2 separate regions of the Homo sapiens genome follow, and region 2 is linked to region 1. Evidence: promoter capture Hi-C in 16 types of primary human blood cells and fetal thymus (Javierre and others, 2016). All regions are on one chromosome and are shown on one strand. Each heading gives the region's core, a stretch centred on a gene start or on the middle of the fragment in contact. The rest is flanking DNA. Distances are from core to core; before and after follow the strand shown. Region 1 holds the start of ZBTB24 (zinc finger and BTB domain containing 24). Region 2 has its middle 71 kb from the start of GPR6.

Evidence for each region. Contacts are between HindIII fragments. The CHiCAGO score rates a contact against its expected background, and 5 or more counts as called.
Region 2: a contact is called between a fragment that was not itself captured here and the fragment with the promoter of ZBTB24 in region 1, in 1 of 17 cell types (neutrophils). The highest score is 7.1, in neutrophils.

Annotation. Positions count from the first base shown.
Region 1 is chr6:109,479,127-109,485,640 of GRCh38, reverse strand. ZBTB24 (zinc finger and BTB domain containing 24) reads left to right here and starts at 2,422. Exons shown (of 7, transcript NM_014797.3): 1 at 2,422-2,543; 2 at 3,587-4,566. The coding sequence starts at 3,615. It overlaps ZBTB24-DT (ZBTB24 divergent transcript), which reads right to left and starts at 1,997. Exons shown (of 4, transcript NR_187591.1): 1 at 804-1,997. RefSeq lists silencers at 1,922-2,361, 2,442-2,731 and an enhancer at 4,430-4,931. The HindIII fragment of the contact is 11,956 bases long and covers 455-6,514 here.
Region 2 is chr6:110,045,433-110,052,366 of GRCh38, reverse strand. No RefSeq gene overlaps it. Among named protein-coding and RNA genes, the nearest start is that of GPR6, 71 kb to the right of the region's middle. The HindIII fragment of the contact is 3,516 bases long and covers 3,555-6,934 here.

The DNA of each region.
Region 1 (6,514 bases), core at 1,173-3,672:
CTCTAAGCTACACTAAATTTATATGAAAAAAAATTCTTTGTTGGCTGGGTATAGGTGGCTCATGCCTGTAATCCCAGCATGGGAGGCTGAGGCAGCATTTATTTTTTTAAATGGGTGTCCTGTGTCTTTATTTGTGAAATCTGGCAACTCTCCACTCCATCTGCTGCCCCTCACTCACTGTGCTCCAGCCACACAGTCCTTGCCGTTCATCAGATGCTCCTTCCCAGTCTGAGCCTTTATGCTTGCTTTTCCCTTGCCTAGAACATTTTTATTCCAGATCTTCCCACAGCTGTCTCCATGTCATTCAGATCTCAGCTCAAATGTCACCCTATCCTGATTTCACTTCCCTGTCAGTCTCCATCATCATTCTTTATAAAATTTAACACTTTCTGAAACTATTATTCATTAGTTTACTTGTATATTTGTCCTGTCTCCCCTTAGTAGAATGTAAGCTTCATGAGAGCAAAGGCCTTGTTAGTTGCTGTATCCCCAACACCTGACGCCAATGTCTGGCTCTTAGTAGACACTCGATAAATATCTGTTAGATGAATGTATGACACCCCAAATCCTGTTCTGCAAGATTTAAATTTAAGAAGACCTGTTAGGGGTAGACCGGCTGGCCTTAACAAGAACAAAAGTTTTGAAAAAGTCAGTATGGATCCAAAACAAAATTGCCTTGAAGAAAGGGCTAGTCTGTGTTGTGGGTGGCTGATGCTGGAAGATCCTCCAGACTCAGTCTTTCCTCGCAGGATTATGCTCCAGTGAGCAATGATTGAATGAGGAAATGGAAGTACCTGGCTTACCTTGGCACTGAGTCTTCTTATGCCGTTGAGGACCTCTGGAGGGACAGTGATTTGACTGCAACCCTCGTAGCAGCAAGAAACAATGAGGTAGCTAACTTCCTGCTGGTATGCAGAAGTCAGGGAGCGCTCCCCATCCCACTTGTACCCCCACAAATCCAGAGGACTTAGAGACAATTCAATATGAAAGGGAAACCTCAGAGAAGGAGCATGTGTGGCTTGAGCTAGTTTTAATAAAATCTAGTAAAAATGTAAGAGCCAGGTTGCTAATTACACCTCCGGTTCAAGATCAGGGAGGCTATAGATGGCATGTTGGGAATCTGGAAATGGGCAGAAAAATAAGTAATTAGGTATTGGCTAAGAGAGAGAAAATGCTGAAATAAATGGATGGAAGCAGGTGGGGAGTAGATCTGGATGGGGCTTGTAGACCACATTAAGAAGCCTGGACTTTATCCAGAGGGCATGTGGGAGCCACATGGATTCTAAGCCAAGGAGTGACTCTAGTCTCTGGATCTCATATGTACTTGGAGAAATCCTCTGTACTTCTGCGAATTAAAGAGAACAACGCTGCAGCTGAGACCAGTTAGAAACAGTCTATTGAACAAAGATGATGAAAGTTTGAATAATAATGATCATTTTAATCACAGCAGACGAATTAAACCAGGCATTTCCTAAGCCCATTACATACTTAATTTTGTTTATGCAATAGCAACCCTACCAAAGTGGCACTAGTGTTAACATCTCCATTTTACAGGTAAGGTAAAGAAGTTGTGAGGGTAAGTAATTTGCCCAAGATCTCTCAGAACCCAGGTTTCTCTGACTGCAGTGCTCTCTTCATTCCCTTAGACTAAGGCATCAGGAGTGGGGAGGAAAAGGAGGCAGATGTGAAAAACATTTAGGAGGTAAGTAATAGTTATTATATTAGCACTAGATAATGACGATGGTGATGATGATGACAATGATGATGACGGTAAGGGGGATTTCATGCCTTTATACATTCAAGAACAACACCAGATTCGGTGTCGGAGAAGAGATAAAATTAAGGTATTGGCGTTGAGCTAACAGTTTAATACGATATAAAACTTCCCAAAGGGAGGGGTCACAACGCCTCTCCTGTCCATTGCCCCCAATTCACCGCAAAAGTCGCTCCTGCCTGGGCTCCCCGGCAGTGCCACACGCAGGACCTCGGGCGCCGACACCGCCCCGCCCCTGGCCGCGCCCCGCCCCGGCCACTGTCCCTCCTCCGAAGCCGCGCCCCTCCCCGCCCTGCCCCGGCCCCGGCCCCGGCCCCGGCCCCAAAGCCCCGGGCCTGCCATCTCGCCCCGCCCTGCCCCGCCCCGCCGCGGCTCCCCCGACCCCAGGCCTGCATTCTCGCCCCGCCTTGCCCCTCCCCTCCCCTGCCACGCCCCAACCCTTGAACTGCCTTCGCGCCCCGCCTTGCCCTGCCTTGCCCCGCCTTGCCCCGCCCCGCCCCGCCCCGCCATCTCGCCCCGCCCCGCCCCTCACCTCCCTTCCCCTCCCCGCCGCTCTCGTGGCCCCCACCTCCAGGGGCGCCTCTGCGGGCCACGTGGTTCGGCGTCCGCGCGCAAGCGGCTCTTGGCGCCGCGCTTCCGGGTTGGCTGTGGCTGTGGCTGCGGCGGCGGCGCAGGAGCAGAAACCGGTGCGGCGCAGAAGCCCCAGAGGCGGGCGGGGCGGAGCGGAGGGCCAGCGGGCCCCGGCGTGGGTCTCCCGCCAGGCCGCCGGGTGAGTTGGCAGCGACCCGGACCCCACCGGGCGCCCCTGAGCGGTAGGTCTGCCGCGCCGACCCCTCCCCCGCCGTGTGCTCCCCAGTCGGGCCCGCGGGGCCTGGGCGGGGAGGTGGGGGTCTTTCCGCGCCACCTCTCCCTGCTGGGACCACCCGGGGCTGCGGGGGGCTCCGCGCCGCCCCTAGTGTGTCTGGCGGCCCCACGCAGCTTAAGTTATTAGTATTTTATTGCAGCTACCTCACATTCACTTTGCACGTGCACATTTCTTCACTCTTCACATTGGTTCCCACATACGAAATGGCTAATAATCTGGGAGATGGAGGCAGCTTCGTTCTCCCTGAAATAGTTGTGCAACCATAGAAAGTTCGTGCTTGCGGAGGATTTTGGAGATGGTTAATCCCATTCCTTCATTTTATAGAAGGTAGACCCTGAACCGTTCCATGAATACTGGAGAGTCACTCAGCTAGTTAATGTGCGGCAGGAGGCTGAGGGAGAGAATTGCTTGAACCTGGGAGGCGGAGGTTGCAGTGAGCCGAGATTGCGCCACTGCACTCCAGCCTGGGCGATAGAGCGAGACTCCGTCTCAAAAAAAAAAAACCGCGAGCTAAGTTGTTTTGTTTTTGTTTTTTGAGGTGGTGGTCTCGTTCTGTCGCCCAGGCTGGAGTGCAGTGGCACGATCACGGCTCACGGCAACCTCGAACTCCCAGGCTCAGGTGATGCTCCTGCCGCAGCCTCCTGAGTAGCTGGGACCACAGGCGGGCGCCACCACGCCAGGCTAATTTTTGTATTTTTTGTATAGATGAATTCTCTCCATGTTGCCCAGGCTGGTCTCAAGTGATCCGTCGGCCTCGGCCTCCCAAAGTGCTGGGATTACAGGCGTGAGGCCACTGCGCCCGGGCCCAGAGCTAAGTTTGTAGACAGACAAAAATGGTAATGGTAAAATTCAGTTAATGATGTGAAGTGAATAGGAAGTTCATGTGGGCTGGCATTAACCTTTTAGACAGTGCTTTCTCCTTTTTAAACCTTGTTTTCTTATTTCAGATTTAACCCTTAGTGGCTTCTGAAGAAAATGGCAGAAACATCGCCAGAGCCTTCTGGGCAGCTTGTTGTACACTCAGACGCTCACAGTGACACTGTGCTGGCCAGTTTTGAGGATCAGAGGAAGAAAGGCTTCCTCTGTGACATTACTTTAATCGTGGAGAATGTACATTTCCGGGCCCACAAAGCCTTACTTGCTGCCAGTAGTGAATACTTCTCAATGATGTTTGCAGAAGAGGGGGAAATCGGCCAATCCATTTATATGCTGGAAGGCATGGTTGCAGACACCTTTGGTATCCTGCTGGAATTTATCTACACAGGTTATCTCCATGCCAGTGAGAAAAGTACAGAACAAATCCTGGCTACTGCTCAGTTCTTAAAAGTCTATGACCTGGTAAAGGCTTACACAGACTTCCAAAATAATCATAGCTCCCCAAAGCCAACAACTTTGAACACTGCTGGTGCCCCAGTGGTTGTTATCTCTAATAAGAAAAACGATCCTCCAAAGCGGAAACGGGGAAGACCAAAAAAAGTCAATACATTGCAGGAGGAGAAATCAGAACTGGCTGCAGAGGAAGAAATACAGTTAAGAGTGAACAATTCAGTTCAGAATAGACAAAACTTTGTGGTTAAAGGAGACAGTGGTGTACTGAATGAGCAAATTGCAGCAAAAGAAAAGGAAGAATCGGAGCCTACTTGTGAGCCAAGTAGAGAGGAGGAAATGCCAGTTGAAAAAGATGAGAACTATGATCCCAAGACCGAGGATGGCCAGGCAAGCCAGAGTCGATACAGCAAGCGGAGGATTTGGAGATCCGTCAAACTTAAAGATTACAAACTTGTTGGGGATCAAGAGGACCATGGTTCAGCCAAGAGGATCTGTGGAAGGAGAAAGCGCCCTGGAGGCCCTGAGGCCCGCTGTAAAGACTGTGGCAAGGTCTTTAAGTACAATCACTTTTTAGCAATCCACCAGAGGAGCCACACAGGTAATGATGTTTTCAAAGCTGATTGCAGTGTGTTGCAGAATTGGGAGTAGTGATGATAATAATAGCTTCCATTTACTGTGCAACTTCTGTGTGATGGGCATTGTAATAAAGCCTTTATACATGTTATTGCAGTTAATTTTCTCCACAATCCTGCAAGGTGGGTAATATCCTCATTATACATTGTATGATTAAAATCATATTTACTCATATGTAAGAGAGGGTTGCTAAAGTGCATAGTTTACAGATGAAGCAACCAAGTTCTAGGGAGCTTAAATAACTTGCCAGAGTCACCCGTTAGTGACAGAGCTGGGATTGAACCCAGGTAGCCTGGTTCAAGAACCCCTCTCATTTGTAGTTGTTGAATGAATCCTTTAATGTCCACTTATCAAGATCTAGCCCAATGTACCCTGCTTTCTGATTCTTGAACATTCTTCATCTTGACCATAACCATGCTTTTGCCCAAGTCTGTGTAGATCACTTTGTAACTCAGCTATCTAGCTTTAAATACCTTCTCATTTTTGGTCCCTCTAGCCCAGCGCTGACCAATGGGACCCTTCTGTGATGATGGAAATGTTCCTACATCTCTGATGTCCAATATGGTGGCCAGTAACCACATGTGGTTTTTGAGCACTTGAACTGTGGCTAGCGTGACTGAGAAACTGAATTTTAAATTTTATTTTAATTCATTTAAATTTGAATAACCACATGTGGCTAGTGGCTACCGTATTGGACACTGCAGTCCTAGTGAGAAATCCCTTCCTCCTTTGAGCCCTTTCAGGTGCTTAAAACCCACTCTGCTTTGGATCAGATTGTTGTTACCACTTGTATATCCCTCAACTTAATTGTAATCTTAAGTATAGGGACTGGGGCTTAAGTCTTCTCCTGTGATCCAGCAGTATCTGGTGCTGTGGTTCTCAGCCTGCAAATTGGAATCACTTAGGGAGCTTCTAAAACTACCAGTGCCTAGACCTCCACCCCAGAGCTTCTGATTTAGTTGTCTGGAGCCTTGGTGCTTTTAAAAGCTCCCTAAAGACTTTAGCTACAGATAGGTTGAAGAGCTTGAATTCAGGTACTTCGAACAAAGTGGATACTTGAGAAATATTTGTTGAACTGTAATAGGTTATATTTTAGCTTTTTTTTTTTTTTTTTTTTTTTTTTTGAGATGGATTCTCGCTCTGTCACCCAGGCTAGAGTGCAGTGGCGCGATCTCGGCTCACCGCAACCTCCGCCTCCCGAGTTCAAGTGATTCTCCTGCCTCAGCCTCCTGAGTAGCTGGGATTACAGGCACACGCCACCACGCCCAGCTAATTTTTTGTATTTTTAGTAGAGACGGGGTTTCACCATGTTGGTCAGGCTGGTCTCAAACTCCTGACCTCGTGATCTGCCTGCCTCAGCCTCCCAAAGTGCTGGGATTACAGGCGTGCGCCACTGCGCCCAGCTGGCTATTTTTATCAAAAATTTTATGTGCATAGTTTAGAGTTAAATCATTATACAAGACTTAAGAAAAAGCATGTAGGATCGTTCTTCCCTTATGTCCTCAGTACAGACAGTCCCCGACTCACAATGGTTCAATTCATCTTTACAATAGTGTGAAAGCAGTACATGTTCAACAGAAACTGTACTTTGAATTCTGAGTTTTGATCTTTTCCCGGTCTAGTAATATTCAGTATGATCCTCTCATGCCATGCCGGGCCACACAGTCACGTGGGTAAATGACCAGTACTCTGCATTTGGTGCATTCATACAGTACTCTGTATAAGTGCATTTTTCCTTATGATATTTTCAGTATGATGGGTTTGTTAGATGTAGTCCCATCATAAGTCAGGAAGCATCTGTATTCTGAATTTTGCAGCCCATCACTTTAGTATGGGTCTGTTTTCTTCCATCTGGGTAGATAACAGGTAGATTCATAAGGTTTGGAAACTGTCTTTCAGTTCTGGAAAATCTT
Region 2 (6,934 bases), core at 4,063-6,562, 560 kb before region 1:
ATATGGGAAGAAGAATAATCAGCAGCAAGGACACCAGCTAACATTTGTTAAATGCCTATCACATACCACGTCCTATGACAGGGACCCTTAAGCCTTAGGAAGCTGGTCTGCTCTGGATTCACATAGTGGGTGGCTCTGGTTTCCCTTGCTTTCACCAAACCCTGTGAGGGAGGCACTACTAGTATTCTCATTTACATATGAAGAAATGGAGGCACACGGAAGTTAAGTAACCTGCCCGAGGTCATATACTTAGAACATACAGAACTAGGATTTCAGCCTAAATGTCCGGGGTCCTTGGGCTCAGCCATTGTGCTACGCTGCATATGTGTGGTACATGAATGAGAAAATTGTCCCTGAGGAAGGTCTAGAAAGTGGCTGTCAAAGGTGAATAGCAACTAGTAGGAAAGAATGTGAGCCATCCTCCAGAGTTTGAACCCAGATGTCTGACTGTGCAGCCCTGTTCCTAACCATTTGTGCTTACTGTCTGTGTTAGAGAAACAGAACCAATAGGATATAGATATTTATATATAATAAAGAACTGGTTCACATGATTACGGAGGCTAAGCACTGGGATATATATATATATATATATATATATATATATATATATATATATATAAAATGAGGAAGCGGCTCATGTGATTATGGAGGCTGAGAGGTTCTGATCTGCCATCTGCAAGCTGGAGGCCCAGGAAAAGGTAATTCAGTCTGAGTCCAAAGGTCACAGAAACAGGGGAGCCAAGGTGTAAGCCCCAGTCTAAGGGTAGGAGAAGATGAGATGAGATGTCCCAGCTTAAGCAGAGAGGCAGGAAGAAAAAAATAGGTGAATTCCTTTTTTCTCAGCCTTTTGCTCCATTCAGGCCCTCAATGGATGATGCCCACCCACACTGGGGAGGGGAGTCCCCACTGTGGGATTACTGAGCCCACCAGTTCAAATGCCAGTCTCATCCAGGAACATCCCCACAGACACACCCCGAAATAATATTGAATCTGGGCATCCCAAGGCTCAGTCAAGTTGACACATAAAATTAACTGCCTATTGAAAAGTATATTAGGATGCAAGTTCGGATGCTATAGCAAAGACGAAAACAGCAGTGGACAAAGCAAGAAAGAAGTTGGTTTCTCTTCCATAACTGTTCAAGCCTAGAAGTCCAGGGCTGGTATCCTGGTTCAATGGTGTGGGAGACCCAGGCTCTTTCATCTCATTCCACAGCCATCCCCAACATGTGGGTTCCATCTGATTGTCTAAGCAGCAACGACTCCACTTACCATGTCTGCATTCTAGCCAAGGGAGAAGGGGAAGAGAAGGGGAAGCTGTCTCTTTCTCTTCGAAGGCACCATTTGGAAGCCATTTACCTCATTTCTTCTTACATGGCAGTAGTCAGAACTAATTGACTGTACCTTGCTGCAAGGAAGGCTGGGAATATGTTATTAGTGTCCTGAAGTTGTATTCTTTTACAAGATAGAGAGAATGAATAGTCGAGTATATCTAGCATTTGTTTCCACAGGAAATATTTACTAGAGGTGAGGCATATAGAGGATCAGATGAACGAGGCTGATAGGAGTGTACCGGTCCCTGCTGCAGAGTTAGAGGTGTGGGACCTAATCAGGCTCCGGTCCCTGCTGCAGAGTTAGAGGAGTGGGACCTAGTCAGGCTGCTTGAGTCTGGATGCCGGTTGCACTGTTCATGTGTGTGTATGATTTTAACCACAAGTTACTTTATCTGTAAAACTGGGATAATAACACTTTATTTGGATGCCATGAGTATTAAATGAGATAATCCATCTAAATGTTTCCTGTTCTTTTTGGCTTAATCTGGATTCCCTGGAAAACAGAATCTGAGGCAAAGTTGAAGTAGTAATGCTTTTTAATGAAGTGCAATAGTAGGGCAGCCAGTGTGAGGCAGGGAAGGATGGGAAGCAAATGCCGGGCCCCGCTGCTGACCTGGCCAAGGCTTCACGAAGACACAGCCTGTCAGATGGCCCCAGGAGATGCCTTTTGGACAGGCCAGAGGAAGGAATAGCAGGCGACTTGATCTGCAGAATCCCTCCTGACTCCTATCCCCAACAGATCAAGGTTCATCCCCTGTGGAGTTTCATATCCCACACTTTGGGGTTGCATCACCTGGCCCTTTTAGAAACTGCTGAGGAATCCATCCCCCGTGCATTGTGGTGTGGCTCTTCTTCCAAGTCTGGGAGGGGCGCATGGAGTCTCAGCTCTGGCTGCTGGTCAGTGACTCCATGCCCTACTGTGGAATCATCTGGCAGAGTCAGTTGATGCAGGGGCTGCAGACGTTACATGGATAATGGAGGGTGGAAGGATTTAGAGCTTAAATAGTCTAAGGCAGCTCATAAGATGTATCGAGTCCATTATTATTATGTGTTGGAAAGAACAGCAGCTTTGACATTAGACAGCACTACCATTCTCTAGCTATGACACCTTAGGTTTAATGTACTCTCACTGAGACTTGGTTTTCTCACATATAAAGATGTGGTGACCACACCGGCTTGACAAGCTATTATGAGGATTAAATAATGCAATTGATGTGAAAGGACCTGGTGCTATGCCTGGTAAACAGCAGCTTCCTGCCTGGTTTCCCATTCTGCGGTCGGGGGAACCAGATCCTCCTTCCCCTGCCAGTGTTTGGTATGTGCAATTGACATGTATCTCATGCATCTTTTGATATTCTGTAAAGAGCCATGCAAACAGGATTTTAAGACAAGTATCCTATCCCTTTCCAACAAGATAGCCACTCCTAGAATATTTCTATGTTCAAATTCTAGAACCGAGATGATCACCCTGGGAAAGGTAGGAAGCTCCTGGCTGCTGTTCAGGAGAGCTTCTCCAATTCCAAAGCAGATCTTGGCAACCCACCCCTCCCCCACTGCGCCTCCCTGGAGCTACTTGAGGGCAGGCAACACGTTTACCTGATTCACTGCTATATCCTCAAAACCTAGCCCAGAAAATCAAGAGCAATAAAAAGAGTGAAATTTGTTTAGTATTTTATGATGTGCTAAGTACCATTCTAAGCATGTTTGTGACTCTACTTTAAGTCTTATAACAACCCGGCAAGAAAAGAATTAATGTTAATGCCATTATGCTCCAAGCAAGGTCACCAGGCCATCTTCACCAGAATCACCTGAAGGCTTCTCAGAATGCAGATTTCCAGAGTCTACCCCAGATCTGAAACAGGACCTCTGGGGTAGAGCCAAGAAGCTGCATTTTTAACAAGGTGTCCAACTGCCTCTTCTTACCCAGAAGCTCTGAAGTCTAACCCCGACTCAACTTCCTTTTGAGATCCCAACTGACCCATCCTACAGTGATGTGCATTATTCGTCTCCAAGTGAGAATATTTCCTTTAACCATTAACCCTCTGCTACATATAGAGAAGTTGAGTGATTTGCCCTATGATGTGGGGTTAATACCAAACAGACAGGCAGTCACAGCTCTAGAACCCAGACAGCAATTCTTTCTAACACATAATAATGTATTAGATACATCTATGAGATTCCCCAGATTCTTTAAGTTCTAAGACTTCTGGCCCAAAGTAAGCTTGAGTAGGGAGTCATCCAAGCTAGATTCAGAAAGGTTTAGATACTTGAGTTGCTGTTGTGTTGTTAGATCTCTACAGCAACTAATGACTATCTATCCAGGCACCAGTGCAGCCACGGGGTGGATTCCCGCATTCCTACTTCATGAGCCTGACACTAAGCCCCCTGGAGGAAGGAATAGAGGGTGACTTGATCTGCAGAATCCCTCCTGACTCCTATCCTCAACAGATCAGAGTTCATCCCCTGTGGAGTTTCATATACCACACTTTGGGGTTCCATCACCTGGCCCTTTTAGAAACTGCTGAGGAATTCATCCCCCATGCATTGTGGTGTGGCTCTTCTTCCAAGTCTGAGAGGGGTGCATGGAGTCATCAGCTCTGGCTTCTGGTCAATGACTCCATGCCCTACTGTGGAATCATCCGGCAGAGTCAGTTGATGCAGGGGCTACAGAAGTTACATGGATAATGGAGTATTAAGTGTATTAAGTAGTATTAACTCACATGATCACAAGGCCCCGCAGTAGGCTGTCTGCAAGCTGAGGATCAAAGAAGCCAGTCTGAGTCCCAAAGCTGAAGAACTTGGAATCCCATGTTTGAGGGCAGGAAGCAACCAGCATGGGAGAAAGATGTAGTCTGGGAGGCTAGGACCGTCTAGGCTTTTCACGTTTTTCTGCTTGCTTTATATTTTGGCTGCACTGGCTGCTGATTAGATGGTGCCCACCCAGATTAAGGGTGGGTCTGCCTGTCCCAGCCCATTGACTCAAATGTTAATCTCCTTTGGCAACACCTTCACAGACACACCCAGGATCAATAATTTGCATCCTTTAATCCAATCAAGTTGACACTAAATATTAACCATCACACTCCAGTAGCTGCTCTACAGAAGCCGAAGAGCCTCCTGAGGTAGAGAGTGAGGGACCTGGGATTCCTGTACTCCACAAAAGGATACTTCTAGTCCAAGGGACTTGCTCTTGGCTCCTCTGGGCACAGGGTTAGACCTCAGAATTTCAGGGTAAGGATGGCATCTGGGCACTTTGGTAAAATTCAGAGGGGAGACCCTGGAAATCTGCATCTTAAAAAGCCCCAGGTGATTTTGGAAAAGGTGCCCTGGTGGCCTCATGTGGAGAATCCTGGGTGTACCAGCTGCAGCTACTCTTGTACCTTTCACTATCATCTGGACCTGGGCTCCAAGGCCTTGCTACCAGAAGAGACAGGGGATTTTTAAAGGCATAAACATGTATTTCTTTCTTCCAATATATTTTTTTTTACTATAAGTTTTAGGGTACATGTGCACAACATGCAGGTTAGTTATATATGTATACATGTGCCATGTTGGTGTGCTGCACCCATTAACTTGTCATTTAACATTAGGTATATCTCCTAATGCTATCCCTCCCCACTCCCCCCACCTCACAACAGGGCCCAGTGTGTGATGCTCCCCTTCCTGTGTCCATGTGTTCTCATTGTTCAATTCCCACCTATGGGTGAGAACATGTGGTGTTTGGTTTTTTGTCCTTGCAATAGTTTGCTGAGAATGATGGTTTCCAGCTTCATCCATGTCCCTACAAAGGACATGAGCTCATCATTTTTTATGGCTGCATAGTATTCCATGGTCTATATGTGCCACATTTTCTTAATTCAGTGTATCATTGTTGGACATTTGGGTTGGTTCCAAGTCTTTGCTATTGTGAATAGTGCCGCTATAAACATACGTGTACATGTGTCTTTATAGCAGCATGATTTATAATCCTTTGGGTATATGCCCAGTAATGGGATTGCTGGGTCAAATGGTATTTCTAGTTCAAGATCCCTGAGGAATTGCCACACCGACTTCCACAATGGTTAGACTAGTTTACACTCCCACCAACAGTGTAAAAGTGTTCCTATTTCTCCACATCCTCTCCAGCACCTGTTGTTTCCTGACTTTTTAATGATCAGTATTCTAACTGGTGTGAGATGGTATCTCACTGTGGTTTTGATTTGCATTTCTCTGATGGCCAGTGATGATGAGCATTTTTTCATGTGTCTTTTGGCTGCATAAATGTCTTCTTTTGAGAAGTGTCTGTTCATATCCTTTGTCCACTTTGTGATGGGGTTATTTGTTTTTATCTTGTAAATTTGTTTGAGTTCATTGTCGATTCTGGATATTAGCCCTTTGTCAGATGAGTAGATTGCAAAAATTTTCTCTCACTCTGTAGGTTGCCTGTTCGCTCTGATGGTAGTTTCTTTTGCTATGCAGAAGCTCTTTGGTTTCATTAGATCCCATTTGTCAATTTTGGCTTTTGTTGCCATTGCTTTTGGTGTTTTAGACATGAAGTCCTTGCCCATGCCTATGTCCTGAATGGTATTGCCTAGGTTTTCTTCTAGGGTTTTTATGGTTTTAGGTCTAACCTTTAAGTCTTTAATCCATCTTGAATTAATTTTTGTATAAGGTGTAAGGAAGGGATCCAGTTTCAGCTTTCTACATATGGCTAGCCAGTTTTCCCAGCACCATTTATTAAATAGGGAATCGTTTCCCCATTTCTTGTTTTTGTCAGGTTTGTCGAAGATCAGATGGTTGTAGATATGCGGCATTATTTCTGAGGGCTCTATTCTGTTCCATTGGTCTATATCTCTATTTTGGTACCAGTACCATGCTGTTTTGGTTACTGTAGCCTTGTAGTATAGTTTGAAGTCTGAATCTTCCAATAATTTTTAAGAGTAGTTACTAAATAATGTAGTGAACATTTAAAGAAATAAACAGAGGGCAGGGTGAGACATTTGTCATGTTCAGCCTTCCTTGGGGACCTTGTCGTGGCTCAGGAGGCACAATGGGAACCGGGAGAACCCTGTCAAAATCCCAGCCTCAGCCACCACCAGTGCATGCTCCCAGCTGTCCTCCTAATAGACACAAGCATGTTGTTGACTTGATTTTTTTGGTTGATGCCTCATTTCCCCAAATATAAAATAATTTGAAAAGAAAGGAAGAAAATGAAAGTCAAGGAAAAATGGCTGCCAAAGCAGACTCAAAATTAAAACCATTCATACCTTTCCTGAGGCTTGGGTGAGCCGGTGGAGAGATTTGTTCCGGAGATATGAGTCTTCCCCTCCTCTAATTGAGGTCAGGGGAAGTTTCTGTCCTCCCATATATCCCTGCAGTGGGACAGGATTCCCCATGACCACCAGAGACCCCCCAGCCCCACCTTACCAGAAACAATGACAAAGTTCGCTTGACATTGGATCTCTCCTTCCTTTTGAGGTCCGAACTACCAAATTGCAGAAATTAGTGTGCATTATTCATCTGCAAGTGAGAATGTTTCCTTTAACCGTGTTAAAGGAAATGAAAGGTTCTATTACTTATGAACCCAGCGCTTGTCAGTGCTAAATTGCCTTTCTTATATATAA